3 separate regions of the Homo sapiens genome follow, and regions 2 and 3 are each linked to region 1. Evidence: promoter capture Hi-C in 16 types of primary human blood cells and fetal thymus (Javierre and others, 2016). All regions are on one chromosome and are shown on one strand. Each heading gives the region's core, a stretch centred on a gene start or on the middle of the fragment in contact. The rest is flanking DNA. Distances are from core to core; before and after follow the strand shown.

Region 1 (4,326 bases), core at 854-3,353:
CTTGCCCACCTGTGTCTCCTTCTCTCCTCTTGCTGCCTCTATCACTACGATGTGTCAGGGCCCCTAATCCATGTGCCAGCACTCCCTCATCTAGGTGCTCACTAAAGGAAGAGTCTCCAGCACCTAACTCAGGGCCTGGCACACAGCAGGTGCCCAATCAAGTCTGTTCAAACAATGAATCAATCAATCAATCAGTCACAAACCACCCACTAAATAACACTCTCACTCATCCTACCCTTCCCCCCGCCCCCGCCCAAGTGATAGACGGGACGAACCAAGCTTGCTTTCACTGGGTAATTGTTCTCTTTTCTTCCTGCTCTCTTCTGCCCACACGGGGTGCCCGCAGATTTAAAACGCTATTAAGGGGCATCGGGCTGCAGAACCTGCTTCCGATGTGGAGCATGCAATTTGCCTATAGCTCTTCTCTCCGCACCACATACATAAATCCAACTGCAGCCCAAGACCCCAGGATGAAGGTGTCTTCCATTTCTACCTCCCTTTTATCAACCACCCTGGAGTCACTGCCTGACAAATGACTCAAAACTGAAATAGCTGCCAGGCCGGAAAAAGACTGACTACGTCAACCTTCACAGGCACAGCTTGTGGACCCAAGAGCCTCCGGTCTTGGGACACCAAATGGACCCTGAGGTGGGGTAGACTTTGTGTCCTACTCTTCCCCAGACCCCCACGCAAGCCTTCACCAACATGCCAGGAATCCTCACAGCTCAGATCAGCACACTGAGCATCAGTTCCTCCTATGAATGGGGAGACTGGGACCCAGGGTCCCAGAGGGCTTGGCCCCATAACGGTCACTGGAATCTGGTCCAGGATACAGACCGTGGAATCCTGCCTCCTCTCCTGGTGCTACTGCTAACTTCCTTCCCTTCCTCTCTCTATTGGGCCGATAGAGTGGAACCAAATGGTCCAGACACCTGGCATTCTCTGCCCTGACTACCGAGGAGAGTCAAAGTCCAGCCCGCCTTCCCCAAGGTCAAATTCACCGGGATCCAGCAGGACCCAAGAGCGTCCAGATTAAATCTGCAGGGGCCTGGGTCCGCCCCCTCACCCACAGTTCGTTGGGTCAGGCCTCTAGAGAGATGTTTCTTTGTTCAAAGACAATGGGAATGCACTTTGGGGGCTTAGAGCAGCAACACAAAAAAAGTATCTGGTATCTCCCGGGCACAATCCCCCAAGAGAAAAGCTTCTAAAGCAACTACGAAAGAGACAGGGGGAGTGGGGGCGTAACATCGCGCGGTGTGTCTCGGAGCCAGGGCAAGTGTGGTAATTAGAGTCAGGCTAGAGGGCTTGCTCTGGACCTGCCAGTCTGGCCGCCACCCAGGTGGACAGGTGGGTGTGCCTTTGAGTGCGACCTTTCTCTGCCGCTGGACAGTTCTGCAAACCGAAACGAGGGACCCTGGCAGGCGGAACGTGAACGGCTCGGGGCTCCGCGGCCAGGCCCGCGCAAACCCTCCCCTTGTGAACCCCGGGCCCTCGCTCTGCGCCAGGCAGGCAGCCATCCGGCCTGGGCGTCCAAGGCGCGGGGCATCGCCGCTCGCGTCCTCAAAGACAAGCAGTCTCTCTTTCCAGGATCAATAGTAATTTTTTAAAAAAAAGAGTCTGCGGACTCAATGAATCAACCACTCCCTGGGGAAAGAGTAGCGGCTCCCGCGCGCAACATCCATTTGCCAAACAATTCATTCCCTCGCGCAGAGCTCTCGGCGAATTCCCTCGCGGAGCCGCGGGGTGCCGGCCGGCCGCCGCTCCCCACCATTGTCCCAGGGCCCCGGCCCCAGCCGCGGGGCCCCCTCCCGGGACACGTAGTCCCGCGGGGGCTCCGAGCGCTTGGTCCCGGCCCGGCCCGGGGTGGTGAGTCCCCAGCGCAGGGAGCGGGGGCGCGGGTGCTGCGGCCAGAGCACGGCGTCCCCGCCCGGCCTGGATACTCACTGCCGGAGACGATCCCCGCCGCCGCCGCCGCCTCAGAGACCACTCCCGGCAGCCCGCGCGAGCTCAACAGGCTCCGCCGCGGCTCCCGTCGGCCGGCTCTCCACAGGCAAAAACGCTCTCGCTGCGATACAGCCTAGGCGCCGCCAACAAACTAGTTTCTCCGGCCTTCCCGCCCCGCCTCCCGGCCCGAAGAGCAGCAGCCAATCAGAGGCATCGCCTCTGTGACGGATGGGCAGCCGAACCCTTCAGTGCAGCCGCAGAAAAGAAGGGGGTGGGCCCCAGGCCGCGCCGGCACCGGGGGGTGGGGGGCCGGGGGCGGGGAGGGGGGGGGACCGGGGGCGGGGCGGGGCGAGGAAAAGGACTTCGACCAGATTCTTAAAGAGACAGGCGCCTGCCCAACCCCGCCGCCCAAGTTTGGGAACAAAACGCGACGGTGTTCTAGAGCTTTCCAGAGGGAGCACTGTAGATTGCATATGCCTCTTTTGTGTTCGGGTCACAAGTGTTGTAGATCTCTTTAGACTCTTCAGAGCCACACTAGTAGTTGCCCGAGTGTTAATGAAACCCTGTCTTTCACTCTGGGCTTGTTTGAATGTTTGGGACTTTCTGCAGCCTCCAAACCCCACCTGTACTTGAAATCTGTATTTTTTGGAGTATTTCAGCTCTCCTCTCTGTGTCATTTCTCACTAAACTCCTTTCGTAAGCCAGCCTTTAAATGTTCGTTCATTCATTCATTCATCCATCCATCCAATAATTTCTTCCAGGAACGTTTCCTGGACGCCCACACCATGCACTCATCTTGGAGGGGGAGAACGGTTTGTGATTCTTCGTCCTTTTCCCTCCTGACTACTACTTCAGCTTACTGTGTGTGTCCAATCTCATCCGTAAAGCGGCAGATAAAAACTCCTCATCGGATTATTTGGGGGATTAAAGGAGACAAATTCCCAGACAAATGAGTGCGCAATAAATGTCCTCTCTTTTCTCCCTCCCAATGAAAATCGATAATTCAAGTAGGTTGCTTAAGGATACAAAAGGTAAAGCATAGAAAGTGATAAGAACGAAAGAGCCAAGCCTGGGGCGGGGAAATTCCCAGGAAGCAGAGGTCACCCTGACGGAGGTGGAGGTGGGAGGTGCAAGGAAGGTCTAAGAAAGTGTACAAAGATTTGGGAGAGGGGATAGGATTGTGACTAGTGGAACCTGGGAAATAGAGCCCCTGGGTAGAAAGCTGCTTAGACAGGACAGATATGCCAGGGTTAAAAGACTGGGAGATGATGAGAAGATACCACCAGGGAAGGCATTTTTGGGAAACAGCTTGATGTTCTGGGTTTGAAGCCCCGCCCTGCCCCTCAAGAGCTGGGTAGGACTGAAGCAGATGGCTCAGACTCTCTGGTGTCTGGTTCTTACTGGTGAAGAGGATTCTAAAACCTTTCTTGCAGGGGTATGGGAAAGATTAAGATAACATATGGAATAGGCCTGGCATGTAGTAAGTGCTCAGTACAGATTTGTGCTTCCATTTGGCCCAGATCTGCAGACATCTAAGGCACCAGGGTTCTGATATTTATGAACAATATTGGCCAGAGGTAAGAAGCTTGCCAAGTGCACTGTTAAGGTGCCTTCTGAAGAGAAAAGGTAGTGAGAGGTGAAGCCAGCTGGACTTTCTGGGTCCAGTGGGGACTTGGAGAACTTTTCTGTCTTACAAGAGGATTGTAAAATGCACCAATCAGCGCTCTGTATCTAGCTAGAGGTTTGTAAAATGTACCAATTAGTGCTCTGTAGAAATGCACCAATCAGCACTCTGTGGCTAGCTAGAGGTTTGTAAAACGGACCAATCAGCACTCTGTAAAATGGACCAATCAGCAGCACATGGGCCTGGACAAATAAGCTAATAAAAGCTGGCCGCCCCCCAGCCAGGAGCAGCAACCCACTTGGGTCCCCTTTGGCGCTGTGGGGGCTTTGTTCTTTCGCTCTCCACGGTAAATTTTTCTGCTGCTCACTCTTTGGGTTCACGCCACCTCTAAGAGCTGTAACACTCACCGTGAAGGTCCGCAGCTTCATTCCTGAAGTCAGCGAGACCACCAACCCACCGGAAGGAACCAGCTCCAACACATTAGCATCAAAGTAATTACTTCATTAAGGAAATGACAGAGATCACATTTGTAGTTTTATCCTGCCGATTTTCTAGCACTAGAGTGTTTATAGAATTGTTGGTTGAATGAAGCTCCACATGCAAAATTGATTCTTGGCAAGTTTATAACTGTTGCTTATTATTTTATGCAGGTTCGCTGTAAAATTATAAGTGCCAACCGCCCAGTAAAATCTGGTCCACATTATAATTTTTTCTCTCTTCAACTCCAAGGCTTAAATTAGGTACTAGAATATATTAAA
Region 2 (4,326 bases), core at 894-3,393, 2.8 Mb after region 1:
CTATTGTTTCTCCTGGAGACTTTTATTTCCCAAGGTAATGCAGCAGAGCAAGATTTAGAACAGGTGCAGTGTGAATTGCCTTTGAAAAGTGGGAGACAGCTGGTTACACATGAGGAGAGGGAAGCTGAACCCCAAAGACCCCAGGCATATTCTGAGGCCCAGCACCATGGAAGCAGAGGATCTGGATATTGACTCTCTTAAAACTCTCCTTGGTTGGGTGTGGTGGCTCACGCCTGTAATCCCAGCACTTTGAGAGGCCAAGGTGGGTGGATCACGAGGTCGGGAGTTCGAGACCAGCCTGACCAACATGGTGAAACCCCATCTCTACTAAAAATACAAAAATTAGCTGGGCATGGTGGCACGTGCCTGTAATCCCAGCTGTTCCTGAGGCTGAGGCAGGAAAATTACTTGAACCCGGGAGGCACATGTTGCAGTGAGCCGAGATTGTGCCACTGCATTCCAGCCTGGGTGACAGAGTGAGACTCCATCTCAAAAACAAAAACAAACAAAACAAAAAAAACTCTCCTTGCCCCAGATTTACCTCCCACAGTCCCCATGCCTGAAGACCGCTGTCCTATAACCCCTTCCCCTCTGCTCTCTGATCAACGCTGCCTCCTAAGTAGCATTTGAATCTGTCATTTCAAATGCTACTTAGGTGGGGAGCTCTTTATCCTCCACACCACTCTGGACATCATGATCTTCCAAATTTCCACAAACACTCCCCCACTCCTTTCTCCAGTCCTCATCCATTCCTCTCTATGCTGCAGCCAGAACAAGTTTTTTCAAATGCAGATTCACTGGTAAACTATCTATGGCTTAAATCCCTCTGCCTCCCCAAAGCCTTCAGGGGCCTGGGTAAAAGGATTGATCTCTCTTGTGACCTCATCCCTTGTCCTGCTTCCCTCAAATTTGTACTCCCATCAGAAAGAGCTCCTAGCTTATTTCTCATCACAGGTACGTTTCCAAATCACTTCTGCTTGCAAAATGTGAACTAAGAGAAGTCAGACTGCTTAGGTAAGGATCTTTGGATTCTAGGTGTTTCTCCTTAATTTAAGTGTCAATTTCCTTAACTGTAAAACTGAAATAATAGTAAGGTCATTGTACAAATTAACTGAGTATTTTGCCTGGCACATCATTCGTGCTCACATAATACGTGTGAACTGTTTATTATTGTTCTTGTTATTACTCATGTTACACTGAATTTTCTTTCTTTCTTTCTTTCTTTTTTTTTGAGACGGAGTTTTGCTCTTGGTGCCCAGGCTGGATGGAGTGCAATGGCGCGATCTCGGCTCACTGCAACCTCCGCCTTCTGGGCTCAAGCGATTCTCCTGCCTCAGCCTCCCGAGTAGCTGGGATTACAGGCTCCCGTCAACGCCCGGCTAATTTTTGTATTTTTGGAGAGATGGGGTTTCATGTTGGTCAGGCTGGTCTCAAACTCCTGACTTCAGGTGATCACCTGCCTCGGCCTCCCAAAGTGCTGGGATTACAGTCGTGAGCCACCGCGCCCCGGCCTCATGTTGCACTGAATTTTCTGTTAACCTTGCTGTTTCCCTGCTGTTAGATAAACAACTCAGGATGCTTATGTGTTTATTGTGTGCATCCCACTGCCAAGCCCACGTAGGAACTTAATACTTAGGAGTCAAGTGTTGCAAAAGAATAAATGAAAAAGCAGCGCTGACGGAGGAAACCTGACTTTCAAAGTCTCTCTTTAGTGCCTACTGTGTATATTATTTCCTTGAATCCCAGAACACCCGAGGAGGTAAGGGCCGATGTTCCCAATCTGCAGATGTGGGTGTACTCAGTAAGTCATTCGGCCTTTGGTGGTACCAGGCTTACAGGAGCCCACATCCCGACCCAGGTAGAGGAGTGGATTGGAGCCGGGGAACACTGATGGGACCGGGCAGGGACGACAGGAGGTCAGTCTCCCTTCCCTTCTCTTTAAAATTTCCCGCCAGTATGGCCGGCTCGCAGCACGAGTTACGCCCTCTTCAGGAGTCCCTCCCCTTCTGCTCTCGCCCGCCTCCCCGCTGCCAGGCAGGCTCGACCAATCAGAAGAGGTCTTGGGCGGGCGCTGCCGTCCAGCGAGCCAATAGGCGGGCAGTCGGAGCCGGGCTTGCCCGGGCATGTGGGAGCTGCCGGCTTTCCGGACGCCACGTGCAGACCGGAAGAGACACGCGGGGCTTCAGGTGAGATCCAGGACCCTGCACCGGGGCGGCGGGGTCGGGCGGGCTGAGGCCGCGTGTCCCGGGTCGCAGGTCCCCGCGCGTTGTTTCCGCCCCGGCCTGCGGCGGGGACGCCTGAACTGGGCTGACCCTGCCCTACCGGCCCGCAGAAAAGCAGGCCGGGCGCCGCCTGTCTCCAGCCCTCGCTCTGCTCGGGGGTCCAGGGCCAGAGGGGGCGGCGCTGGTCGTTGGGACTCGGCCCAGCTGCCGCGGCCAGCAAGTGACCAACGCCCGAGTCCTTCCCGGTGAGATCAGGCCTCCCACGCGTCACGCCTGGGAGAACGCCAGCCGGCGGGGAGGTCGTGCCAGGATAGCAGACTTTAGTTGTTGTCGTTGTTCCGTGGACTTTTTAGCAGCACAGGGGACCTTATCGAGCCAGGTTTTTTCAGGTTTGGGCGATTATCAGAATTGTGGCTTGAGGGTAGGGGTCGTCCGCGCTCTTTTTAAAAATCTAGATTCTCAGGCCCCTTTCCCCAAAATAGCAATTAGGACGGTGTGGGAGTGGGCCTGAAAATCAGCCTTTCATCAGATGTCATATGGTAATTAACTACATTTGGGAAGCCCTTATCTAATTCACAGCCCTCGGTTGATGGTGAAGAGACGTGACTTGCCCCAGATCATCTAGCTACTTAGTGCCAGAGGAGGGTCTAGAACTGCCCTCTGCCCTCTTGATCAGCCAGCAGGTTGGTGGCTCTCATGCCACCGAGGATTCTGACTTCTTGGTTCCTTTGGGGCCTTTGCTCCATTGACTCTGCAGCTGGGACCCTTTCTTTAGGCCAGACCCCCTCCCTGCCTGAAGGCCGGGTGTCTGACCCCCAGAGCGCTGGGTCCAGGCTAGAGAAAGGCTTGTGTTTGTCCTTGTTGAAAGGGTTGTTTTATCTGAGCGGAACTTCTCTCCAGCTTCACTGAGCTACATTTGGGTCCCCAAAGAGGTGTGTCCTTGATGACTGTTGGTTTTGACGTGTCAGCATGTAGCAGGAGGAGCCGCGGACAAAACCCCACAGAGGTAGTGAAGGAATTGGCTTTTAATCAGCTGGAAGCATCGGCAGACTAGCATCTCAAAATCCGAGCTTGTTGAGTGCACAGTTTCTGTCCCTTTTAAGGACTCACAACACTAAAGATTTTACAAGAAAGGGCCATGATTGATTGAGCAATCTAGGGGGTATGTGACAGGGACTGCATGCACCGGTAGTCAGAGTGAAACAGAACAGAACAGAACAAGAGATTTCACAGTGTCCTTCTATACAATGTCTGAAATCTATGGATAACATCGGTTGCTAGGTCATGGGTTTAATTTTAACTATCAGGCTAAGGTCAGGCAGGCCCAGGCCTGGTTTTGGGTCTGGTTTTGGGTCTGGTGCGTGGCGCCGGGCTGCCTGCCTTTGGTTTTGCTTCCTTGTTTCTTCTTAAAACAGGTACTGAGTATAAAATAATACAGAACAATATGAGGGGGAGGTCTCTTTCTCTCTTCTCTTAAGCAAGGTCAGGGTGTTTGGAAAAGGACTACTTTCCTCTCTTGAAATAGGAGGCTACAGAGACCTTTTCTCAGATAACTTAATTTCTGGCTTCTTTAAAACCTTGCCAGTAGGATCAGGAAAGCCACCCACCCTACTCCTAGCCTCAGCCCCTCACAGAGAAAGGAGGGGACTATCCGCCAGCCCCCTTTCCCAAATTAGTTATTAGCAGGGTGGGCATTGGGCTTCTTAGGCTTTTTTCTCCCATTGCTGGGCTGAGGCAGATTAAGGTTCTGAATTTGTCAGTTCTAAGATGTGACTGTCAATATGAGGAAGTTGGTTACAGTTAAGACCTTTTTAAAAGAGAGACCTTTTCTCCTGGAAAGGATGGGATGAGCAAGCAGGGTGGATGAGTCAGGATGGGTCAGGTCTGGATGAGTCAAGTCAGGATGCGGTGCCCTGCCCTAGAGTGTGGGGATTCTTTATGCAAATGCTGGCATCATCAAACCTGGCATTTCACCTCACCTCCCATCCCCTTCCCATTTCTCTTAATCTCTGCTGCTACTGCTCAGGTTTTCATCTTCTCCAGACCTCTTTCTACACCCTTCTGAAGAGGACCTGCCACATGCTAGCTTCTAGGCTGGCTGTTG
Region 3 (4,326 bases), core at 1,059-3,558, 2.4 Mb after region 1:
GCCAGAGGGTGATGGCAGGAATAATGAAAGGGGAAGAAGCCCAAGATGAAACTAAAAGGGACGTGTCAAGGCACCCCAGTGGATCTCTACCCCTGTGCTGCTGGGTTTGCTTTCCAATGCAGGTCGGGGTTTTGCTTGAGTGAGAGAAGACATTTCTGCACAAATACTGGGCTTAAGCAGGTATGGGTTCTCTGCTGGGTGGAGGTGAGCAGGGGCTATACCCTCTGTACTACCCTGATCCTAAAAGAGACCAGCCAGTCAGAGCTGCAGAAGCCACCCATCCCACCTCCTTTCTGCAAACCCCAAAAACCCTCTGTTTTCTGTAGGAGGGACCCCTGGATGCTGTTCAGAGTGGAGAAGGCTCCCAAAGCAAGCTGCAGATGAATGAAGTGGGAGGATGAAGAGTCCAGGAGATGAAGAAGAGAGACAAGATGGGGGACAGGGCAGGGCTGCAGGGCGTGGGAAGCTTCTCTCTTGATATCTCTGTTTTAAGTCATCCACAGTTCCGATTCACAAAGCAGGGTCACAATTATCAGTACAAGCCAGGCACAGCCCACTTCCCCTCTTCTGACAGTGCTGATGTTTCCCAACCAGATCCATGCAGACCAGATCCAAAACCCTCTCCAGAAACTCAGGGAGCCGACAGCCCCGTACACCACACCTCACGGCAGGCAGGAGGAGGGATGGGAGGAGATTGAAGGAAGGGCCAGAACAACAAGGCACAGATCCCTTCCTGGGGGTCCGATAGGCTGCAGTCAGCAGTCACCCGCTACCTAGACATGCACAGCCTGCTGCTGCCTCTGGCCCTGATCTGCTCAGACCCCAGACCCTGGAGAGATGGCCCTTCTAAAGGGCCGAGGTGACAAGACAAGGGCGATCCCAGGAAGCAGTCTGGAAGTCGAGAGAACACTGGATGTGAAGTCAAAGGCATGGTAGGAGTCTTCACTCTGTGATGTCCCCACTGTGCAACACCAGGCAAGTCCTCTTCCTTTCAGGCCTCAGTTTCCTCATCTGTAGAATGCAGGGAGTGAGCCAGACCGTCTCTAAGTCCTTAGCTCTGGGACCAAGAGTCCTAAGCCCAGGGCAGCACCTGCCGGTTGCCCCCTGCAGACCCCTTCCATGGGTTCCTCTCCCTTCATCCCTGCCCTCCAATGCCCTCAGCACATGCTCTCTCCTCCACCCCAGAGGTTGCAGCCACCAGAGCATCCCTCAGGGTAGATCCCAGGAAGTGCCGACTGGATGGTGTGAGTGGATAAGAAACAGGCCACGAGCAGTCCACAAGGTGGCCCTGAGATGCCGGGGAAGGCCAGGCACTGAAGGGCAGTGAGATGACCCACAATGGGGGTGGGTCTCCAGTTCCAACACTCACTTCCTAGAGAACAGTCTGGCTTCTGAAATTTCAGACACAAATTATTCCAGAGGCCAGGGAAGTCCAGCCTCAAAAGTCCCTCCTCCTTGTCCTCAGGCCCCCACTGCCCTCCATCCTGACATACCAGGGGGAGCACTGAGCCATCTCTGGGCCGCACGGCCCCTATGGCTGATGCAAATCTCCATCAAACCCCCACCCCTGCCCCTGGGCCCACACTCACATGGTCTTGTGTCCCGTTCCATTATTAATAAAAGTAACAACAATAATCACACTCAACTTGTAGAGAGCCCTTAGCATTGTACCAGGCCAAGTGTTTTGCAGAAATTATCTTACTTAATCCTCTCAGTCACCCAGTGAAGGAGGGGTGATAGCCCCATTTTACAGAGCAGCAAACTGAGGCTCAGAGAGGTTAAGTATCACTGAGAAGATTTAGAACATCTGACCTGAGCTCTCATCTTCTTTCCACTTTATGTATGCATCTGCACATTCACCTTTTCCACTTTCCCTCCTTTTACAGAGATAGAGGATGCTCTTCTTTTATTTATCCAAAACCCAGCATAAAGTGAGGCTCTGTGGACAGAGATGAACGATGGTGCCCCAGCCTTCCAGGAAATCTCAGCTTCAGTTTGCACCTCTTATTCTCTCTCTCCCAAATCCTCCATGCCCTGCATCCTCCCCGTCGGGTCTCTCCTGCTCCTTCAGGCTCTCCCATCCACTGGCTCTTCCTTTGTGCCCACATTTCCCTTAAAAAGCTGCATTTCCCACCAACCTATCACCAGCTTTCCCTTGGTGTTAGGAGCTGACTGCTGTCCACTCCTCACCCCCAACATAAAATTCATTTGTTGAAGTCCTAGCCCCTACCTAGAGCCTCGGTGTGTGACTGTATTTGGAGATAGAACCTTTAAAGAGGTAATTAAGATACAATGAGGTCATTAGGATGGGCCTTAATCCAATGTGACTGGGTCCTTATAAGAGGAAATGTGGGCAGGTGAAAAGAGAGACACCGGGGACATGTGCACACAGAAGGATGACCAGGTGAAGGGGCAGCAAGAAGGCCGCCATCTGCAAGCCAAGGAGAGAGGCCCTAGAGGAACCCAGTCCTGCTGGCTCCTTGATGTTGGACTTCCAGCCTCTAGAACGGTGAGGAATCCACTTCTTCTGTTTAAGACACCCAGTCTGTGGGACTTCGTTATGGCAGCAGCAGCAGATTAACACACCTGGTAACCAAACCCTCAGGGGAACACTCACTGCCCGTTCCTCCCTCCCCCTTTACCCACCTCAGTTCTGGGCCACTGAGGTCGCTGACCACTACCCTCCCCCTAGAAGCTGCATGCCCCTCGCAGCAGTACCAAGCATTCCCCTTGCTAGCTCACTCCCGTGGGTCCTTTCTCCTTACTCCTGTATCCAGATGGAAACAGGGTTCTCACCTTGGCCCTCCTCCCTTCTTCATGTTCACTGGCATCCTTGGCTTCAGCCCTCACCTCTAGACACATAATTCACTAACCTGCAGGCCTGGTTTTTATGCCCAAGCCAGCCCAGAAACTCCAACTGCTGGCAGACATCTGCCTCTGGATTTCCAGGCCAAACCTAAACCCAATGTGTGAAACCAGAATCATGCTTTTCCTTCTCATATCCACTCCCTGCTGATCTTCCTCTATCTCTGGGCACGTCACTCCCCTCTCTCCTGGGCTCCCCACTGGAAATCCCAGCACTGAGAATCCATGCATGCCCCCTCAGCTCAAATCCTGCCACTCTGACCTCCATGCCATTTCTCTCTCCCACCCCCTCTTCCTATATCTGATTTTCATCCCTCCATCTGGAGAGATTCCACACCTCCCGCTGGATCTCCCCATCCTGGCTGTCTGCTACTTCCAATCCATGGCTGGCTGTTATGGCTCAATCTTCCTGAAACATGAGTCTCATCCTATCAGTCCCCTTGCCCCCATACTACCCTGTAGTGCATAAAGGATCTGTCTACACCTGCACTCAGAGCCTCTGGGAGCTGTGGTAATTGCTGCCCCTTCCAACTCCCTTCCTCTTGGTCAGTTGTGACCCACCACTCAGATCCCACCACAGCCTTCCTGATTCCCCTGGGCAGAAACAGACCCTCCTCCAGGAAAACCCACAGCACATGACCCCAGTACTCTTCACCTCTTCCCTTGTATTATAGTTGTCTATTGGGGTCATCACTGTGATCCTCAAAATAACTTCCACAAAGCCTCACACGCAGTAACAGAGGGGAACTGGAGGTCTGCAAGCCAACAAGCTCTCTAGATATGGCAGCACCCCCAGAAGCCCCTCCAGCTTCTGCCCCCTTCACCTCACCTTGCCATAGAGATTGAAAGCCACATGTTCATCTGCTCAGCCTCCCTGGCAACAAGGGATGGCCAGGTTTGAAGCCTGAGCCATATGCAGAAGTCTAAGGGTGGGAGTGTTGTGGGGGGACCTCTGGGGAGCTCCCTCCTTTGCTGGTGTGCTCACTCCTTACCCCTCCCTGACCCTATCTGCCCCTCACCAGGACATATTGGCTGCAGCCACCATGCAACCATGAGAGAAAGGCTAAGAGAATGGCAGAGACTCCACCCTTGACATAGCTGAGTGCTGGACCAACACCAGCCAATCTCCCATTGTCTAATTTTCATCAGAAAAATAAACCCCTATATGTTTAAGCCACCAAGCCAGTTTTCAGTTACTTGCAGCCAAACGCAAGCCTGTCTGATTACATACATAATGGTATTCAACTCTAACAACCACCCTGGGGGATGAGGTTCCAGGAGGAACTAAAGCTTGAAGAGGTTACATGACTTATCCAACATCCTAGAGCCCATGAGCAGGAGAACTAGGATCAAATCTGCCTGATCTTTACACTCAGGATCTTTCCAATCTGCTTCTCCATGTTACATCCCAAAGCTTGTTGAGTGACTCAATGACTGGAAAGACCATCCACTTTACTAAAT

The links. The method cuts DNA at HindIII sites, captures the fragments that hold promoters and counts their contacts. A CHiCAGO score of 5 or more calls a contact.
Region 2: a contact is called between the fragment with the promoter of AEN here and the fragment with the promoter of KLHL25 in region 1, in 4 of 17 cell types (M0 macrophages, M1 macrophages, neutrophils and 1 more). The highest score is 8.8, in M0 macrophages.
Region 3: a contact is called between a fragment that was not itself captured here and the fragment with the promoter of KLHL25 in region 1, in 2 of 17 cell types (M2 macrophages and M0 macrophages). The highest score is 7.7, in M2 macrophages.

What each region holds. Positions count from the first base shown.
Region 1 is chr15:85,792,822-85,797,147 of GRCh38, forward strand. It overlaps KLHL25 (kelch like family member 25), which reads right to left and starts at 2,104. Exons shown (of 3, transcript NM_022480.4): 1 at 1,945-2,104. RefSeq lists silencers at 1,775-2,074, 2,225-2,294. The HindIII fragment of the contact is 2,328 bases long and covers 1,200-3,527 here.
Region 2 is chr15:88,619,197-88,623,522 of GRCh38, forward strand. It overlaps AEN (apoptosis enhancing nuclease), which reads left to right and starts at 2,144. Exons shown (of 4, transcript NM_022767.4): 1 at 2,144-2,186. RefSeq lists enhancers at 1,352-2,025, 2,026-2,699, 2,029-2,188, 3,675-4,326 and a silencer at 2,209-2,398. The HindIII fragment of the contact is 13,176 bases long and covers 1-4,326 here.
Region 3 is chr15:88,225,128-88,229,453 of GRCh38, forward strand. All of the region lies in intron 3 of NTRK3 (neurotrophic receptor tyrosine kinase 3), which reads right to left. Among named protein-coding and RNA genes, the nearest start is that of NTRK3-AS1, 25 kb to the right of the region's middle. The HindIII fragment of the contact is 3,689 bases long and covers 465-4,153 here.